Linked DNA regions of Homo sapiens: all the other regions are linked to region 1. Evidence: promoter capture Hi-C in human tissues and cell types (Jung and others, 2019). All regions are on one chromosome and are shown on one strand. The core of a region is centred on a gene start or on the middle of the fragment in contact, and the rest is flanking DNA. Distances in the headings are between cores, read along the strand shown. Region 1 holds the start of SMTNL2 (smoothelin like 2). Region 2 overlaps ANKFY1 (ankyrin repeat and FYVE domain containing 1). Region 3 overlaps MINK1 (misshapen like kinase 1). Region 4 overlaps ANKFY1 (ankyrin repeat and FYVE domain containing 1).

Region 1 (4,700 bases), core at 171-2,670:
GGCCATCTCCCACCCTGGATGGGACCTCCAGGGGGAAGGCCCAATCTGATACCCTCCTCCAGGCCCCCTAGGGTCCAGCCCAGCCCACAGCGGGAAATCTGAGAGCCCCAGGGATTGCACCAAGGAGGGAGCAGGTGCAGGCTACACAGCCCCAGATCCTGGGAACCCAACCCGAGAGCACATGCCTGATCAGGATGGAAAATCCCACCCAAGGGCCACTGCACACACCATGGACACATTCTAACTGCTCTGGGTGGCCCATGCGCAAGGTAGTGACTGGTCCACGTCGGCCTCCGCCCTATCCCCACGTGGTGTGGGCCTCTGGCTAGTCACTGACCCGAGGAATCTAGACACGGCTCAAGGCGGGTTTCCACCTCTCTCCCTTCACGGTAAGGGATTTACCCCCTGCGATGGAGAGTTCCCAAAAGCCGCTGCTGATCGCGTCCCCCTCGACCCCCCTCCCCACCCATCCAGGGGCCTGAGTTCTCAATCTGAGTTAATCAATAACCAGAGCCGTCAGGCCTCAGTGAAGCGGCAACGCAGGGGAGCGTGAATGGAGGGTGGGGGTCAGGCAGGGGTGTCGACCATTCCAACATGCCCCGCGTGGCTCCAGGCAGTGCTGAACAGTCAGGGGCCGGACTTCGGCGCCCAAGCCGTTGATGTCATGGGACAGAGGAGAGAGGGAGACAGGACTCTGAGCAAACAGAGCCTGGCTCTAAAACAGGGCGGAGGACCAAGACAGGTGCAGCTGGCAGGCTCAGCGGTCCTCCCCCCGCCCTCTCCAACTCCGGAGGGGCGGCAGGACCCCCATCACCTAGTCCGAGCGGCCGGTGAAGGCCCCAACCCCGCAGACGCGAGCAGAGGCAGGCAGTCGGGGCGAAGGGGCGGCACCCGGTTCGGAGCCCCACTCCCTGGCGCCAGCGCACGCGCTCCCCCGGGCTCACCTGGCCGCGGCCGGACAGCGAGAAGGTGGCGTGGCTGGCGAAGCGTGCGCTGCCCAGGCGGGGCGCGCGGTCGGGAACCCCGGGCGCGGGCGGGGGGCTGGGCGTGCCGGGAGTGCCGGGCACCGGGGACATCCCGCTGGCCAAGCCCAGCGCCTCCACCTGGCGCGTCAGGCGCTCGAGCTGCGCCTGCAGCCGCTGGTTGTCCCGCTGCAGGTCGGCCACCGTGCGCGCCAGGGGGCCGGCCAGGCGCATCGCCTCTGCCACTCGCCGCTCCACGCCGCGCTGCAGCCCCCGCATGTCCTCGTGCAGCGCGCGCACCGCACCCTCCAGCGCCGCCTCGTAGCGGCCCAGCGCCTCGCGCACAGTGCGCGCCTCCTGGGCGTCGGGGGCCGGCTCCATGGCCCAGCAGAGCGCGCGGGTCGAGAGCGGGCCAGACGGGGGAGAAGATCCGAGCTCCGCAGCTCCGGGCCGCGACTGGCCGTCCGTGGCTGGCTTCGCTCGAGGGGCTGCCGGGGAGGCGGGCGCGGGGCGGGGCCTCGGGGGCGGAGCCGGGGACGACTCCGGGACACCCCCCTGCCCTGGAGCCCAGCGGGACGGTGCGGAGGGAGAGCTCGCCCAGCCTCTCCCCTCCCCGGCTCTTAACTGAGCCCTGCGACCCCGGAGGAGCGGCGTGCGGCCTGCGGGAGGGGCGGCGGGCCCACCCGAAGAAGGCCCTGGCCCCCCTGGACCGTAGAGAGCACACCCGGGCTGACGCGTTCGCTCGGGACTCTCACCCGCAAGGCCCAGGTTCCTCCGGGGGCGGAGACTCCCGGGCTAATGGGGACACCTACAGCTCCCACAGCTGCCGCCCCACTCCGCGGGGCCCTCCCTATGCAGCGGCCACGGCTCTCGCAGGCACACGCTCACCTGTGGGACCTTCGCCTGGAATTTCTTGTATCTGTTCTAAGACCTCAGGGAGGAGACAGGTGGTGAGGTCCCCTCCCTGACTCTGCGACTACGCGCTGTCCCCTCCCAGTCCTACTCTGTATAGCAAGATCTTCGTGCCCTTCCCACTAGTGGTCGGTAGAGGCTCCCGACCCACCAAGGGGCCTCCGTTAGGAGATCCTGGAGAGGCTAAGGGCAGACAGAGAAAGAAGGGTGTGCTGGAGCTGCATCTCCAAATCCTGGAATGGGCGGCTTTGCGACTAATCGCCCCCTCCCGCAATGAGAGTCTCAGTCACTGGCCTCTACCCGTAGGCCAGGGGTCTTACCCCTATTCCTTCTCAATGCTCTTTATGGCTGAACCCAGATAGTTCCCCCTTCCAAATGCACACCCCAAACCATCACCAGAAAAGGGAAGAAGGGAAACAGGTGTTGCTTTAGGACGATGGGATGATGGGCAAAGCTAACTCTAAGTTTTCGCTATATCATAAAGCTGATTTAAAATAAAAATGAGAACATATCCTCCTTTGTGCAAAAAACCTTTCCTAATTGGCCTTCTTTTTCCCAAGCCTGGCCTGCCTGAAAGAGGCCCAGAGGCTGGGCATGCATAGCCAGCTGACCTGCAGGAAGGAGAAGTCTGAAAGGCTTGTTCATATCATGTTCTGCTCCCAAGGTTGTTTGGAGCCCACAAACCCTCCTGGACTGGCCATCATTGCCCCAAAGGAACTGGAGCAGCCTGACAGATGCTAAATGCTGGTTCTCTCCCCCGCCCCCAGCCCCAAGGGGACAGGAAGGAACGCTGGGTTACCTAATCCAAGGAGCCTTCCAGCAATTATTTCATGAAAAAGGCAAATGCCAAAAGGTGTGCATGCTGCATATATGTGTGAGCATGTGTGTGCATTCCAGGTAGCCATCTGGACAGGGTGAGCCAAACTGCTCCCTGAATGCTTTCTCCAGGTGGAATCTTTAGTAGCAGCCTCCAGAGACGCTGCTGCTGCTCTTGCCGCAGACAGCACTCAAAGCCCCTCCAGGTCTCAGCACAAGAACCTGGAGTTCAAAAACCCTGGTCTCAGCCACAGAAGCCCAGTCCCTTCCCTTCTAAGATCCAAGGAAGGACCGTGTGGAGAAGCCTTGAGAGGGACTGGACAGGCTGGTCTCTAGGCTTCTCTCCATCCTCCGGGAGAAGGCAGGCTGGCTGGGCCATTGGTGGGAAGCCTGGCAGGGAGGAGGAGGTGACAGATCGTAGAGCCTGTGGCTGCCTGGGATCCATCCACACTCTCCAGCCTCAGGCTAGTTATCTGGTCTCTCCTGAGCCACATGGGAATCTCTAGGAGGAACTTCTCGGGGACGGGGCATGGCTGCTTCTGGGGCCGAAGGCGGGACTCTGTCAAGGGCAGAGATGGGGGCTCACTGTGGGTTCTGGGAAGGCAGATGGTACAAGACCATCCCCCTTGGCTCCTTTTTCTCAGCAGTCAGATCTCCGAGTCAGTAGCTGGAGATGCACCCAGGAGAGGAGAGAAGAGCCAGGAGCATGAGGAAGAGAGTGATTCTGGGGTGGGAAGGGGGCGGGATGGAGGGTCAGCACCACCCTCCGACCTGGCTCCATGACAGATGGACCGAGGCTGCAGCTCTGTTCCCAGGCCCAGGGGCTCCTGTGAGCCTTCCCTGCAGGCCCCTCCCCCACTCTCCTTTAGCTCCACTCCTGCCCAGTACCAGGCTGCGAGGGAGGTGAGGGCCCGTGAACCTGGCTGGACTCCCTGCACATTCACCAGCCCTGATGTCAGCAAGCAAGTGGAGGCCAACCTCCCACCAAGGCCTGGGGGCCCTGGCGCCTGCCCTTCCCACTCCAGTCTCCTGGCTCTGCCCCTACTGCTGCCCACCGTCGTCCTGCTCTGCTCTGAGTCTAGGCTGGATGCAGGATGCAGGACAAGCTTTCCCCAGCCCCCCTGCCAATGTCTCACAAAATCAAATCCACAGTTAGGGAAGTTACCATCTTTGGGCCTGAGGCGGGGAAACTGAGGCCCTAAGAGGGGCAGGGACTGGCCCAAGGCCACACAGCAAGGCATGCGGAGACAGTACTGGAACCTGGGCCCTGCCCCCACACCCAAGGTGCAGTACCCTCTTTCCTGCACGCCAGTCCCAGCTCACCTCCCAGTACAGCAGTCAGGTTCCACCAGGTCAGAGCAGCTCCTCCCTGCTCCCCGGATTGGCCGGAGGCCTTACTCCCCTGAAATTGCTCCTCAGAGGTCTCCAGTGCCCCCCATGGCCCTCGAGACCCCCCAGGACCACTCCCTCCTCCTCCTCACTTACGTGATTCTCCTCTTTCCCTCCCCAGTGACCTTCCTGACTGTGCTTCTGCTCCTCCCTTCACTGAGGTGGTCCCCAGGGCTCTGAGCTGGGCCTCCTCCCTCTCACCTGCACACCTGCCTGGGTGGTCTCACTCACCCCCACACCTGCACACTGCTTGCACCTCAGTGCCGACGACTCCCACTTCTCCGCCTGCCCCCAGCCTCTCCCCTGAACTTCCCACACACTCTCCAGACTCCTCAGGTCTGAGGGAACACAAGCAGGGCTTACAGCGTGGGGAAAGGACAGAAGGAGTGGGACGGCTGAATCCCCCAACTGAGGTGGGAGTGGGCTCTGTCCACCTGCCTGGCGCCACCCCTCCAGCCCTCTGCACCCCAGGTCCACATGCATGGTGCACACACACACACACACACACACACACACACACACACACACACACGGTCACGCATTGGACTCCATCCCTGGAGAGCAGGAGCTGTCTCAGCCATTAGGCTGTCCCCACACCTGGGGCAGCAGCTGGCTTTAGTA
Region 2 (4,310 bases), core at 754-3,253, 380 kb after region 1:
TTTTGTAGGTTGGAAGTCTAGGACAGGAATCACTGGCCCAAAATCAGGATGTCGGCAGGCTGTGCTTCTTTCCAGAGACTCAAGAGGAGAATCCATTTCCTGCTTATTTGGATCTTTGGCAGAATTCAGATTCTTGCACTTACAGGATCGAGGTCCCCATTTTCTTGCTGGCTGTCAGCCGAGGGCCATTCCCACCTTCTAGAGCCCTCCACACATTCCTTAGCTCATAGCCCCCGGCTTTTGTCTTAAAAGCCAGCAGTGGTGGGTCAGGTGCTTCTCATGTCACATCTCTCTGACTTACTCTTCTGGTTCCCTTTTTCACTTTGAAGGACTTGTGTGGTTAGATAGATCGGGCCCTCTGTGGTTAGATAGATCGGGCCCTCTGTGGTTAGATAGATCGGGCCCTCTGTGGTTAGACGGGTCGGGCCCTCTGTGGTTAGATGGGTCGGGCCCTCTGTGGTTAGATAGGTCGGGCCTCCTGGATAATCTGGGATACTGTCCCCATCACAAGGTCCTTAATCACATCCTCAAAGTGCCTTTTGCCATGTAACGTGGTATGTTTATAGGTTCTGGGGATTAGGACATGTCCGTCTTTGGGGGGGGTGATAATTCTGCCCACCATATGACCTTGAAAGAAATGTAATGGCTCTTGACAGATGGGAGCGAAGTATGTTTTATCCCGGGTGTCCAGTGTATGGGGAGACATTAAACTGCTGGGAAGAATGAAATAGGAACGCCACTGCCTTTCATGAAAACATTAGCTGTTCACCGTAAAACTCTCTGAGCCTCTGCCTGGCACTCGTGCCCCACAGCACTCTGTCCACATTTTCCTGGTGGCCTTTAATCGTCTCCCACATTGTTTATGTTGGCTATGTGGTCCCCATTAATTCTGTACTCCCTGAAAACATGTACCCTGAGGAAGCCTGATAGAAGTTTGTGAATAAAGTTGAATTTGGGGAGTAAGCAGTGTTGGAGCACTTAAATTTGACATTTGTATAAGAGATGATATTTAAGGGTCAAGGTGGGAGAAATTAAAATAGGTCGTATTCTCTACTCACTGGGCGCTAATTTACAAACTTGTTTGTGTAGCTCCCTGGGAAGCTGAATGAAGCGGATCATAACGGAGATCTGGCATTAGATCTAGCCCTCTCACGACGACTGGAGAGTATTGCCACCACGCTGGTTAGTCACAAAGCTGATGTGGACATGGTGGACAAGAGTGGCTGGAGCTTGTTACACAAAGGAATCCAAAGAGGTAGGAAGAAGTGTGTATGTTTCCCTGCAGGCAATTTTATTTTTATCCGAGTAATTTTTGAAGACTTTCTGACCTTGTTCCCAAAATTCTCAAAGGCTTCTGTAGTCTGTACTCACAGGCTACATGATCTAGAATTTGATCATTGGGTCAGAGGAAGCACTCAAGAGCTGTTGCCTATGCCGTGTTAGTTTGGCCATTCACCGTGCCAACAGGGCCCCAGAAAGAAAGGCTACAAAGATGGTACTTGTGTGAAGAAGTACCTTTTACTTGTAAGCACTTGATATGTTTGCTTGTTCAATGGATGGCTTTCTCCAGGAATTGTGCTAGGAAGGTTTTGCTTTTGTATTCTACCACAGATACAAGGATAGTAGCAAAACCATAAACCTTGAAACGTGTTCTTAGCTTCAGGGTTTTCACTTTAACAGGCTAGGCCTCTATTATGATAAATTGATAGAGTTTCATTTTGTTCTAGCAGAGTTATTTGAAATTGTAGCTATATTTTGAATGCATTGTTAATAGTTGGAAGAATACAGAAATGATAGACTTGAGAACAAAACATTTAAATCTTTTTTTTTTTTTGAGACGGAGTCTTGTTCTGTCGCCCAGGCTGGAGTGCAGTGGTGCGATCTTGGCTCACGGCAAGCTCCGCCTCCTGGGTTCATGCCATTCTCCTGCCTCAGCCTCCCCAGTAGCTGGGACTACAGGTGCCCACCACCACGCCCAGCTAATTTTTTGTATTTTTAGTAGAGACGGGGTGTCACCGTGTTAGCCAGGATGGTCTCGATCTCCTGACCTGGTGATCCACCCACCTTGGCCTCCCAAAGTGCTGGGATTAGAGGCGTGAGCCACCGCGTCCTCCCAGAACATTTTAATCTTAATGAATTAACTTGTCAAAGGAAAAAAAAAATACTAGGTTTTTGTTTGTTTTTTTCCATAGTCTTACTAATTCATGAGTCCCAAATGGATCTGGGCTGATTTTGCTTTGCAATGGTCATTTTAGACAGAGTGAAATCTGTATAGAGGTAGAGTTCCAGTGAGAAATGAAAGCTTTCCAAAGTGTCAAAGCGTTAGTTTTGTGGAGGGATGGTTGACTTGATTGAAGTGCATTGCCATGGCCACTTTTTTTTACTTACACGTAGACATCAAAGAGAGAATCTACTTGTTTCGTTCCATCTTAATCATCTATATTTTCCCCTTTTGATGATGCATTGTTATACTATTATTGTCTGTGCTACATTTTTGCCATTCACAAATTGCTCCTAGTTGGTGGAATGTAGTTACATCAAGATGTGGTCCTGTGCCAGCTTTGTCCTTTTTGGGCCAAGGTTTTAATACAAGTATCCTTATAAGCCATGTGCTGGAGTGCTGAGCTTGCTGGCTGGTAGAGAGGAAAATTTTGCTCATCACTGGGTAGGAAATCCTTCGAGTATGTCAGTGTCAAGAGCAGATGCATCTTCCTCAAGCACCGTTATGTGCTGTGCAAAGCCAGCGGGTGCTTAGCACTGAGTGTGATTCAGTGGGGAAATCTCCACCACGTAGGGAATGATTCTTTCCCACACTGTTTCGTGTCTGAGATGTTTATTTTGGAAACAGATACCCTGTTACTAAAAAAAAAAAATCTGAGAATTTTGTTTCTTTCCTCCCAGGGAGTTAATTCTTATGTTTGATGATAAATCATCTTTGAGTTATTAAATATTTTGGTGATTGCTTAGATACAAGAATTGCCAAGAATTAGTGATACATTTTTGATGTTTATTTTCAGATGATTTAACCTTCCACTCTGAGTTTATTAATTGCTTGCAAGTATGTGGATTACAGCGTGGGTATAATAAACTTGATTTTGCTAACTTTAGAGTGTTGCATATTACGGTAGACAGAGCACTGGCTTTATGAAGCTGGTATTCACCAAGGTTTGAATCTGAGCTCATCTGTTTACTCTGTGGCCTTGGACAAGTCACATTCTACGTCTTCCTTATCCATAAAGTGGGAATTACTTTTGCTTTATTGGTTTGTTCAGAGAATGCGAGGCAATGTTAGTAGTACACCCAGCAGTGATTACCAGGGGAATGGTGGGGTCAACCCTGCCATTCATCGCTTGCCCCTGCGTTGGAAATGCCATAACCAGGTCCAGTTCCTGTAGGAGTTTTTTTCACTTTAACTGTTAAAGAGTGAAAGTCTTTAATATATGAGATTTTGGTTTAGTCTGAGCACACATTAGAATCTGTCAACAAAATAGTCAGTGATCATCCTAATAACCAAGTATACCAGTCATTTTATCTAAAGAGTGGAACAGGCAGGCAGTGTCTTGGGGGAGTCCACAGGGGGCACATGTTTGGCCAGAGGGATGCCATCTCCTTGGATTAGCCTGATCTGAGCAAGAAGATGAGTCTTCACTTTATAAAAACAGTTCTTCCTGAACTTTTTTACCTTAATAACCAACATCAGTTGATGGGTTTCTTTTTTCTTTCTTTCTTTCTTTTTTTTTTTTTTTTTGTTGTTGTTGTTGAGACGGAGTTTCGCTCCTGTCACCCAGGCTGGAGTGCAATGGCTCGGTCTCGGCTCACTGCAACCTCTGCCTCCCAGGTTCAAGCGATTCTCCTGCCTCAGCCTCCTGAGTAGCTGGGATTACAGGCACCTGCCACCACGCCCGGCTAATTTTGTATTTTTAGTAGAGACTGGGTTTCTCCATGTTGGTCAGGCTGGTCTTGAACTCCCAACCTTAGGTGATCCGCCCGCCTCAGCCTCCCAGAGTGCTGGGATTAAAGACGTGAGCCACTGCGCCTGGCCGATGAGTTTCTTCAGTAGATTGTTCCTGTTATTTTTAGTAAATTTGAAAATGATGCCACCAACTGGAGCAGCATGAAATATGGTTTGTATTAATTGAATAATGAAGGTTACTGGCTGAATAAAACCATCAAGAAGCTGCATTGAAAGAAATATTATATATGGATTTTTTTAGTGTGAAGTTTTTTGTTAGGAATATTTTTATATGGACGGATTGTAATAGTCAATAGTCATGCCTCATTTACCTGGCAGTGTCAGTGAATGAGGTGAT
Region 3 (4,086 bases), core at 605-3,104, 270 kb before region 1:
ACGGGCAGAGGCTGGGCTGGGTGAGAAGGGCCAAAGAAGTCCCCATCGCAGGGGGGCAGACAGCGAGCAGGAAGGCTCTAAGATGGAAGAGGGTAACTCAGGGGTAGGCTTTCTTAGCTGAGGACAACAGCAAGACAGGAGTGTGGTGAAATGGAATGATGGTGCTTAGTGTTTACTGCACTAAGAATCAGAAGGCCTGGGCACTGGTTCTGACTCTTCTGTATAATTTAGGCAAATCCGCAAATCACTTAACCTCTTGGAGGTTCTTTTCCTTATCTACCCAGGCCCATTTCACAAGAATTCACCGATGTGGAAACATTTTAAAATCCATAAAATGCTACAAATTTGCATAGAGTCATTATGAAGAAACTGGCTCCCACAAAGCAAGGCAAAACTGTGGCAAAAAGTGATTTACCAAAACTGTTGGCGTTACTGGGATTTAGGGTGAAGTGTGGCAGTTCAGGAGAGAAGAAACAAGATAAAAAGTAGAATTGAGAGGAAGGCAGGTGAGACAGAAGGGAGGAAAACCAGATCTGTGGCCTCGGAGGCAGGCTGACAGGGGCAGGGAGGAGGGCCAGTCCCTGGGAAGCAGACACCAGAGAGAGCAAGGAAGGGCACAGCATGGCAGTGGGAGGGGGCAGAAAGGAGATGCCAGGCCCGTTCAGGCTGGCAGATACCAAGCTAACGGAGGAGGACAACACTAGTAATGAGGGGTTGGATAATAATAAGGCTTCTTGCTGCTGGTTTTCAATTGCAGCACAAACAGATCATTATATCTTATTGCCAGCCTCCTTCTGTGGGAGTCAGGTGTCCACAAACCCAAGGAAGAGACTAGAGAAGCTTCATGACCAAGAAAACTTGTGACCTGTACCCATATGATTTCGAATTCCAGAAGACCAATGACAGGCCATGAGAGAAAACTTAGGAAGGAAAGCTCTGAAGGACAAGGGGACAGGAAAAGAGATCCTGGAAGGAGAGGGAGAGGGTGTGAAGCTGAGTCAGCTGTAGGAAGAACAGGTAGAGGGCGGGGGGGGCCAGCAGGAAGGGGAGGAAGGACTGTCTGAATCACACTCTGAGAAAGAACAGGGTTACTCTCCAAAGGGTGGAGACCAGATATTCTCTGGCCCCACCAAGGACCAACCCAGGATAAATTACAGCTGAAGAGACGCAGGTGAGACAGAAGGGGAACTTCCTGACCAGCAGGATGGAGCAAACATGTTCACTCAACTTTTCACCAGGCCTGTCTCTCCTGTTTATCCTAAGAAACCTTCCCAGACACCTTTCATGCCAAATCTATGGCCTGGTGAGCCAGCTCATGCATTCATTCAACAAACACTGAGTGTCAGCTATGTAGAGGCATTGCTAGATACTACAACGTGGCGTTGAACAAAACAGAAATGGTCCCTTCTTCCTTCATGGAGCTTACAGTCTAATCAAGGAAGCAGACATTAAAGACATAATTACACAACACCTGTGAAAGACTCTGATGAAAAAATACAGAGTGCTATCAGAACGATTCAAGGAGGCTGCAGTGAGCCACGCTTGCGCCACTGCACTACAGCCTGGATGACAGAGGGAGACAGTGTCTCAAAAAAAAGAAGAAAAGAAAGATTAAAGGGAGGTCAAGATGGGAAGGGAGCCAGGAAAGGCTCGCTAAGGAAGTGATGTTTAAGCTGAGACCAGCCGGGCGCGGTGGCTCACACCTGTAATCCCAGCGCTTTGGGAGGCCGAGGCGGGCGGACCACCTGAGGCCGGGAGTTCGAGACTAGCCTGACCAACATGGAGAAACCCCACCTCTACTAAACATACAAAAAATTAGCCGGGCATGGTGGCGGGTGCCTGTAATCCCAGCTACTCGGGAGGCTGAGGCAGGAGAATCGCTTAAACCAGGAGATGGAGGTTGCGATGAGCCAAGATCGCACCATTGCACTCCAGCCTGGGCAACAAGAGCAAAACTCCATCTCAAACAAACAAACAAAACACGCTGAGACCACAGGGACAGGCAAGAGTTAGCCAAGGGAGGAGCAGGGGTGGGGAGCACACAAAGGCTCAAGGCAGGAATCTCAAATCTCCAGGCAAGGCAGAGTAAGGAGCCCAGCATCCTGAGCCGCCCAGCCTTCAATCTGTGCCTTTCAATAAAGCTCTTTATACATTTCTGTGCCAATGTCTTGTCTCTCACATCCCAACAAAGCTGTGTGTCCCCAAGGGTGAGGCATAGGTTTTCCCCTCAGGCTGAATGCTTTCTCTGGGTGGGTCCAGAGCTTTTACAGAAAACAGCACGCAGGGCCAGAGTGACTGCCCAGTGATTGCCGGAATTCCTGAGTCAGGACAAACAGGAGTTTCGTGTTCAGATAGAAGATTTTGAAGTTACTCTTCCTTGCAGTGACGCTGGAAGACTTTCAGGAGATGGTAGGAGGCTCTAGGACTGGGAAAGGGAAGCCAAGCCCACAGAATTCCAGGTCTACACCTGGGGCTCACTGACTCACTCTCAGCCATTTACCTTAAAATCAATAGACTGGGTGGTTTTCTCTTTCTTAAACAAAATACTAAGTCAGGGGGAGAGGAATGTTAAAGAACCCCAGGAGACACGCTTTCTGGGAACTTTGTGCAATAAGAGATGTTGGGCAGCTACCACCTGTCTAATGAGCATTTACCAGACTAAGCACTTTACATCCCTTTTATTTAATCCTCTCAACATCCCTATTAGGTGAGTCTTGTTACCTTCATTTTACAAAGGACAAAACTGAGGCACAGGGGCCAGGTTCGCGGTGGCTTAGGCCTGTAATCCCAGCACTTTGGGAGGCTGAGGCAGACGGATCACCTGAGGTCAGGAGCTCAAGACAAGCCTAGCCAACATGGCAAAACCCCATCTCTACTAAAAAATACAAAAACGAGGCCAGGCGCGGTGGCTCACGCCTGTAATCCCAGCACTTTGGGAGGCCGAGGCAGGCGGATCACGAGGTCAGGAGATGGAGACCATCCTGGCTAACACGGTGAAACCCCGTCTCTACTAAAAATACAAAAAATTAGCCAGGTGTGGTGGCAGGTGCCTGTAGTCCCAGCTACTTGGGAGGCTGAGGCAGGAGAATGGCATGAACCTGGCAGGCGGAGTTTGCAGTGAGCCGAGATCACGCCACTGCACTCCAGCCTGGGCGATAGAGTGAGACTCCGTCTCAAAAAATACCCCCAAACACTGAGGCATAGGGGTATGAGTTACTTGCCAAAGAACACGTAGTAAGTGACAGAACTGGGGTTTGAATCAAGTCTGTCTCCAAGGTCTGTGCAGTTGCAGGGAGCGATGGGGAAGGTCCCCCATTCCAGGTTCCTCTCTGTCCCTAAGGAACAATTCCCTGTCTTCACAAGTCAATCCCCATTTGGTTCTGACTGCTCTTCCTCCTCAGCACTAGCAGACTCAGGAAACCGTCTCTGGAGTGTACATATTCTGAAGGTCATATTTCAAATCAAATAGTCCTTCAGAGTCCCTCCCGTCCTCCCTCCCTCCTTCTTCCTCTCTCTCCCCCATCTCTCCTCTTTTAAACAGAGATGAGGTCTCTATGTTGCCCAGGCTGGTCTCAAGCTACTGAGCTCAAGCACTCCACCCACCTCTGCCTCCCAAAGTGCTGGGAGTACAAGCATGAGCCACTGTACTGGGCCCAGACCTTTTTCTGAAACTTCCCTTTATTTTTTGTGTCCTTCCCATGGATGCTGGGCTCCATACCCACACTCCAACACTGCGCCCAACCTGAGATCTCTCTACACAGTAGGAACTGATGTTTCCGAGACCAGCTCTGAGACACCACCCGCCCTGGCCACTGGCACCCCCCGTTTCTGTCAGCTCCTCCCAGCTTAACACACAGTCACCACCTCATACATGCACTTTTCCTTATATATAGAACACTGTAAATTACACATTTAATATATTCATATGTTTAAGTCAGTGTGAGAACAAATAAAGCATATTTTGACCTCTATGACAGGGGGCTGGCTCTGTCTCATAGTAGGCACTCAAAAATTTTTAGGAAGAAATAAGGACTCCTGGGCCTGAAGGGATCTTAGGGAATCCTATCATCCTACAGTCCTCGGGAA
Region 4 (4,190 bases), core at 414-2,913, 330 kb after region 1:
GCCATCAAGAAAAGTTGCCTGGATACATCCTTAGCCTCTTGTCAAGCAAACTGGCTGGTCCACCTTTTATTATACTCTGCATAACCTAAGTCTGCTAGGAGCTACCTAACCTACTTTTCATCCAGCCCATTTTTGTTTTAGCAACTAAAATACAATGTTTAAGGCCGGGCACGGTGGCTCACGCCTGTAATCTCAGCACTTTGGGAGGCCAAGGTGGGCGGATCACTTGAGGTCAGGAGTTCCAGACCAGCCTGACCAACATGGTGGAACCCCATCTCTACTAAACATACAAAAATTAGCCAGGCATGGTGGCATGTGCCTGTAATCCCAGCTGCTCAGGAGACTTGAGTCAGGAGAATCACTTGAACCCGGAAGGTGGAGGTTGCAGTGATCCGAGATCGCGCCACCGCACTCCAGCCTGAGCAACAGAGACTGTCTCAAAAAATAATAATAATAAAATAAAATGTAGTGTTTAAGAGCTCAGACTCTGCAGCTGGACATGGATTTAAATCCTAGTTTAAGCTGTGATCATAAGCAAGTCAATTAATTGCTGTCAGTCTCAGTGTCCTCAGCTTTAAAAGGGGGATCATCTGTAGCTCACAAGTAGCTGTGGGAATCCTAGGATATTTCTCAGTTGCAGGAAGAGCCTTTTTCCACAGCGCCTAATGTTTCTTCCACAGCGACTGATGCTTTTCCCACAGCGCCTGATGCTTTCACCCTGGTGCACAGTCTTTCTCTTGAGTCTCCTCTAAAATCACTCTCCATTTCTTTTCCTCAGTAAAAGTAAAAATTGAAAAAAATGTAATTTTTTTGTAAATAGTATATTGAACAGAAAATTTATCATAAACTTTTGTTAGCTTGATGGAATTTGATCAGAAAAATACTTTTGACAACAACCCAAGCAAAATGGGGAAAACATTCCATGTCCTGGGTATTCATTGACCAACACAATAGTCACTAGCCACATGTGGCTACTTAAATTTGATTAAAATTAAATAAAATTTAAAATTAACTTCTCAGTTGTACTAGTCCTATTCCAAGTACTCAGTAGCCATGTGGCTAGTAGCTCCCCCTAATGGACAGCACAGATTAATAGAACACTTGCACCATTGCCAGAAGTGCTTTGGATAGTCCTGTTCCAGAAAATGCTTCATTAGTGGAGGCTGGTAGAAATAAGGAAAGAAGGAACTTTGCTGTTTCCACTTTTTTTTTTTTTTTTTGAGTTGGAGTCTGGCTCTGTCTCCCAGGCTGGAGTGCAGTGGTGCGATCTCGGCTCACTGCAAGCTCCCCTCCCAGGTTCACACCATTCTCCTATCTCAGCCTCCCGAGTAGCTGGGACTACAGGCGCCCGCCACCAAGCCTGGCTAATTTTTTGTATTTTTGGTAGAGATGAGGTTTCACCGTGTTAGCAAGGATGGTCTTGATCTCCTGACCTCGTGATCCGCCCGCCTCGGCCTCCCAAAGTGCTGGGATTACAGGCGTGAGCCACCGCGCCCGGCCCTACTTCTGAAATTTATCTGTTTATTGTTTTACTTATTGAACAAATGTCCCAGGTCATTGATAATTATATATAGTCCAGAGACCTCTTAAGGACTGTTCCTTTTATACCATTCTTTTCTTTTCTCTCCCTTTCCTGGTGACTACTGTCACCAGCTGTAGCTGTTAGCTTTCTCCTTGTGAATTATTTTTACTGAGAAATAAAATTTATCCATTAGTGGTTATGTCAAAGTAAAGCTACTGAATTGTGCTGAGATACACAGGATTCTGTCACTGGCAAGGTGATTTGCTGTAGGCAATTTGAGATACTATCATGATTTACAGCCTTGCTGAACCAAATGAGAAATTGCTATGTCCCCAGAATCTCCTGTTGAACCTGTGGTATTTATTGAACTCCATCTGGTAAGGTACTGTCGGGAGGAGGAGATAACCATGGAATGGGTATAGAGGGAGAAGTAATTGATAGTTAAATACGAATAGCCAGAACTAAAGCTTATTCACAGGGAGTTCTGAAGTCTAGGAGGGGAGATAAAAGAAATTGTATATGAGAAACTATATTTTAAGGTGAAGGGTAAAAAATGCTTAGGAGTTACTTTGAAAACTCAGGGAGAGATTTTTTAAGGAAGTAATGGGGAATGTATTTTGGATAATCAGGGAAAGTCTTGTTGCAGGAGACATTGCTTGAACTGAGCTTTGAAAAATGGCCCTCCTTTGGACATGGGGACATGAGATTGAGGAGAGGTCACTGTTCTAGGTGGAAGGAATTAGTGGGATGTGAAGTTGGAAGAGTATGTTAAGGGCCAGATTATTAAGGGCATTGGTTCAGCATTTGGATTTTATTCTGAGACTCATGGAGCGATACTACCGAAAGGAATCAGCCACGGTAGCGACAGAACAGGAATTGTGTGAGGCATGGCGAAATGACTGCAGTGTAGAGGATGGATTGGGAAGAAAGGAAGTCAGAGAGCAAGCTGTAGCAGTTGATGGTGAGCCATTTGGTAGAGGCTGTGGGGCTGGTGAGGACTGATGGGAGAAAGACCACAGAACGTATGAAAGACAGGACTTTTGAAACCTGGTTGAATGTTGATGAGAGAGAATCAAAGATGACTCAAGTTCTAGGTCTGGATGACTCAGACAAATGGCTGAGCTGCTAAGAGGTAGAGGAGGAATAGATTGGAGAACAAGTATTTTGACCTCACTTTTGGACATATTTGCTTTGCCCAGTATACTTCTATGTGGTGATGTCTAAGTTGGAAGTGTTTCCAGTCAGGAGTTTGGGGTGGAAATGGCTAGTTAGCTAATATTTGTTATGCATCTCTTATGAAACCAGCCCAATTGTCACTGCTATACACGGTGAGCTTTTGAAAGATGTGTAAGTCATGCCACCAACTGTAACATGAGGCAGACGAACCTAGCAGAGTTGAATTGCATTCAGGAAAAACGTATTTCACGGTAGGTGCAAGCTACTGTGCCAGAGATGACAAAATGAGCAAGACACAACCTTAACCTTAATGGAACTTGCAGAACAGAGAGGGGAAGGCAAAGTATTTCAAATAAGCATGCATGTTGCTTTCTAGTTATACCAGGTTTTCTCTTCTATATTCATGATTAATGGCACTACTTTTCAGCCAGACTCTCAAGTCAGTCACCAAAAAGTTATCTCCGACTCCCCCCAAGATCTGCATCAGTCACCAAATCCCCCGGATGCTGTACACCTCTCACATCTGTGCTTTCCTCTCTCCCTCGTTCCATTAGTACATAGTTCTCAACCTGGAGAACCCTGCACAGTACAGTTAACCTGGGAGTTTTTTCTTTTTTTGAGATGGAGTCTCGCTCTATTGCCCAGGCTGGAGTGCAGTGGTGCGATCTCAGCTCACTGCAGGCTCCACCTCCCGGGTTCACGCCGTTCTCCTGCCTCCGCCTCCTGAGTAGCTGGGACTACAGGCGCCCGCCACTGCGCCTGGCTAATTTTTTGTATTTTTAATAGAGACGGGGTTTCACTCTGTTAGCCAGGATGGTCTCGATCTCCTCAGTTCGTAATCCGCCCGCCTTGGCCTCCCAAAGTGCTGGGATTACAGGCATGAGCCACCGCGCCTGGCCACCTGGGAGCTTTTAAACATCCATATTTGTGGGCTGGGCGTGGTGCCTCACACCTGTAATCCCAGCACTTTGGGAGGCCGAGGCGGGCAGGTCACAAGATCAGGAGTTTGAGACTAGCCTGAGCAACATGGTGAAACCCCGTCTCTACTAAAAATACAAAAATTAGCCAGGCTTGGTGGTGCACTCCTGTAATCCTAGCTATTCGGGAGGCTGAGGCAGAAGAATTGCTTGAACCTGGGAAGCGGAGGTTGCAGTGAGCTGAGATCGCGCCATTGCACTCCAGCTTGGGCGACAAGAGTGAGACTCCGTTTCAAAAGAAAAAAAAAAAAGAAAAGTAGTAGTGGTGGTAATTAATCACCAGTGAAGAGCTTTTCTAATCTGATGCCAAGGAAGATAGTATTTTCTGGGAAGCTGACACTTTAATGAAATATTTTTTTGTGGAAGATCCTAATATAAGCCTGGAACAAAAAATTATTCTTGTAGTTCTCCAAATAGAATGTTATCACAGCCTTTACAATCATTTCTCTTTTATCTAATGGACATAGTTAAAGCAGAATAGGTATAAAGTCATTTAGTCATTAAAGAATTACATG

Evidence for each region. The method cuts DNA at HindIII sites, captures the fragments that hold promoters and counts their contacts. A contact is called where the count stands out against the background at its distance.
Region 2: a contact is called between a fragment that was not itself captured here and the fragment with the promoter of SMTNL2 in region 1, in 5 of the 25 tissues and cell types used here (adrenal gland, heart right ventricle, lymphoblastoid cells and 2 more).
Region 3: a contact is called between a fragment that was not itself captured here and the fragment with the promoter of SMTNL2 in region 1, in 1 of the 25 tissues and cell types used here (IMR-90 fibroblasts).
Region 4: a contact is called between a fragment that was not itself captured here and the fragment with the promoter of SMTNL2 in region 1, in 3 of the 25 tissues and cell types used here (heart left ventricle, hippocampus and lymphoblastoid cells).

The regions. Positions count from the first base shown.
Region 1 is chr17:4,581,249-4,585,948 of GRCh38, reverse strand. SMTNL2 (smoothelin like 2) reads right to left here and starts at 1,420. Exons shown (of 8, transcript NM_001114974.2): 1 at 945-1,420. The coding sequence starts at 1,343. RefSeq lists enhancers at 1-441, 1,062-1,681, 1,682-2,301, 3,094-3,667. The HindIII fragment of the contact is 15,336 bases long and covers 1-4,700 here.
Region 2 is chr17:4,203,266-4,207,575 of GRCh38, reverse strand. It overlaps ANKFY1 (ankyrin repeat and FYVE domain containing 1), which reads left to right. Exons shown (of 25, transcript NM_001330063.2): 7 at 1,090-1,255. Among named protein-coding and RNA genes, the nearest start is that of ANKFY1, 59 kb to the left of the region's middle. RefSeq lists a silencer at 326-526. The HindIII fragment of the contact is 7,321 bases long and covers 1-4,310 here.
Region 3 is chr17:4,847,468-4,851,553 of GRCh38, reverse strand. The region is part of intron 1 of MINK1 (misshapen like kinase 1); the gene reads right to left. Among named protein-coding and RNA genes, the nearest start is that of MINK1, 16 kb to the right of the region's middle. RefSeq lists enhancers at 1,175-1,888, 1,889-2,604. The HindIII fragment of the contact is 4,927 bases long and covers 1-4,086 here.
Region 4 is chr17:4,255,554-4,259,743 of GRCh38, reverse strand. All of the region lies in intron 1 of ANKFY1 (ankyrin repeat and FYVE domain containing 1), which reads left to right. Among named protein-coding and RNA genes, the nearest start is that of ANKFY1, 6.3 kb to the left of the region's middle. The HindIII fragment of the contact is 5,645 bases long and covers 1-4,190 here.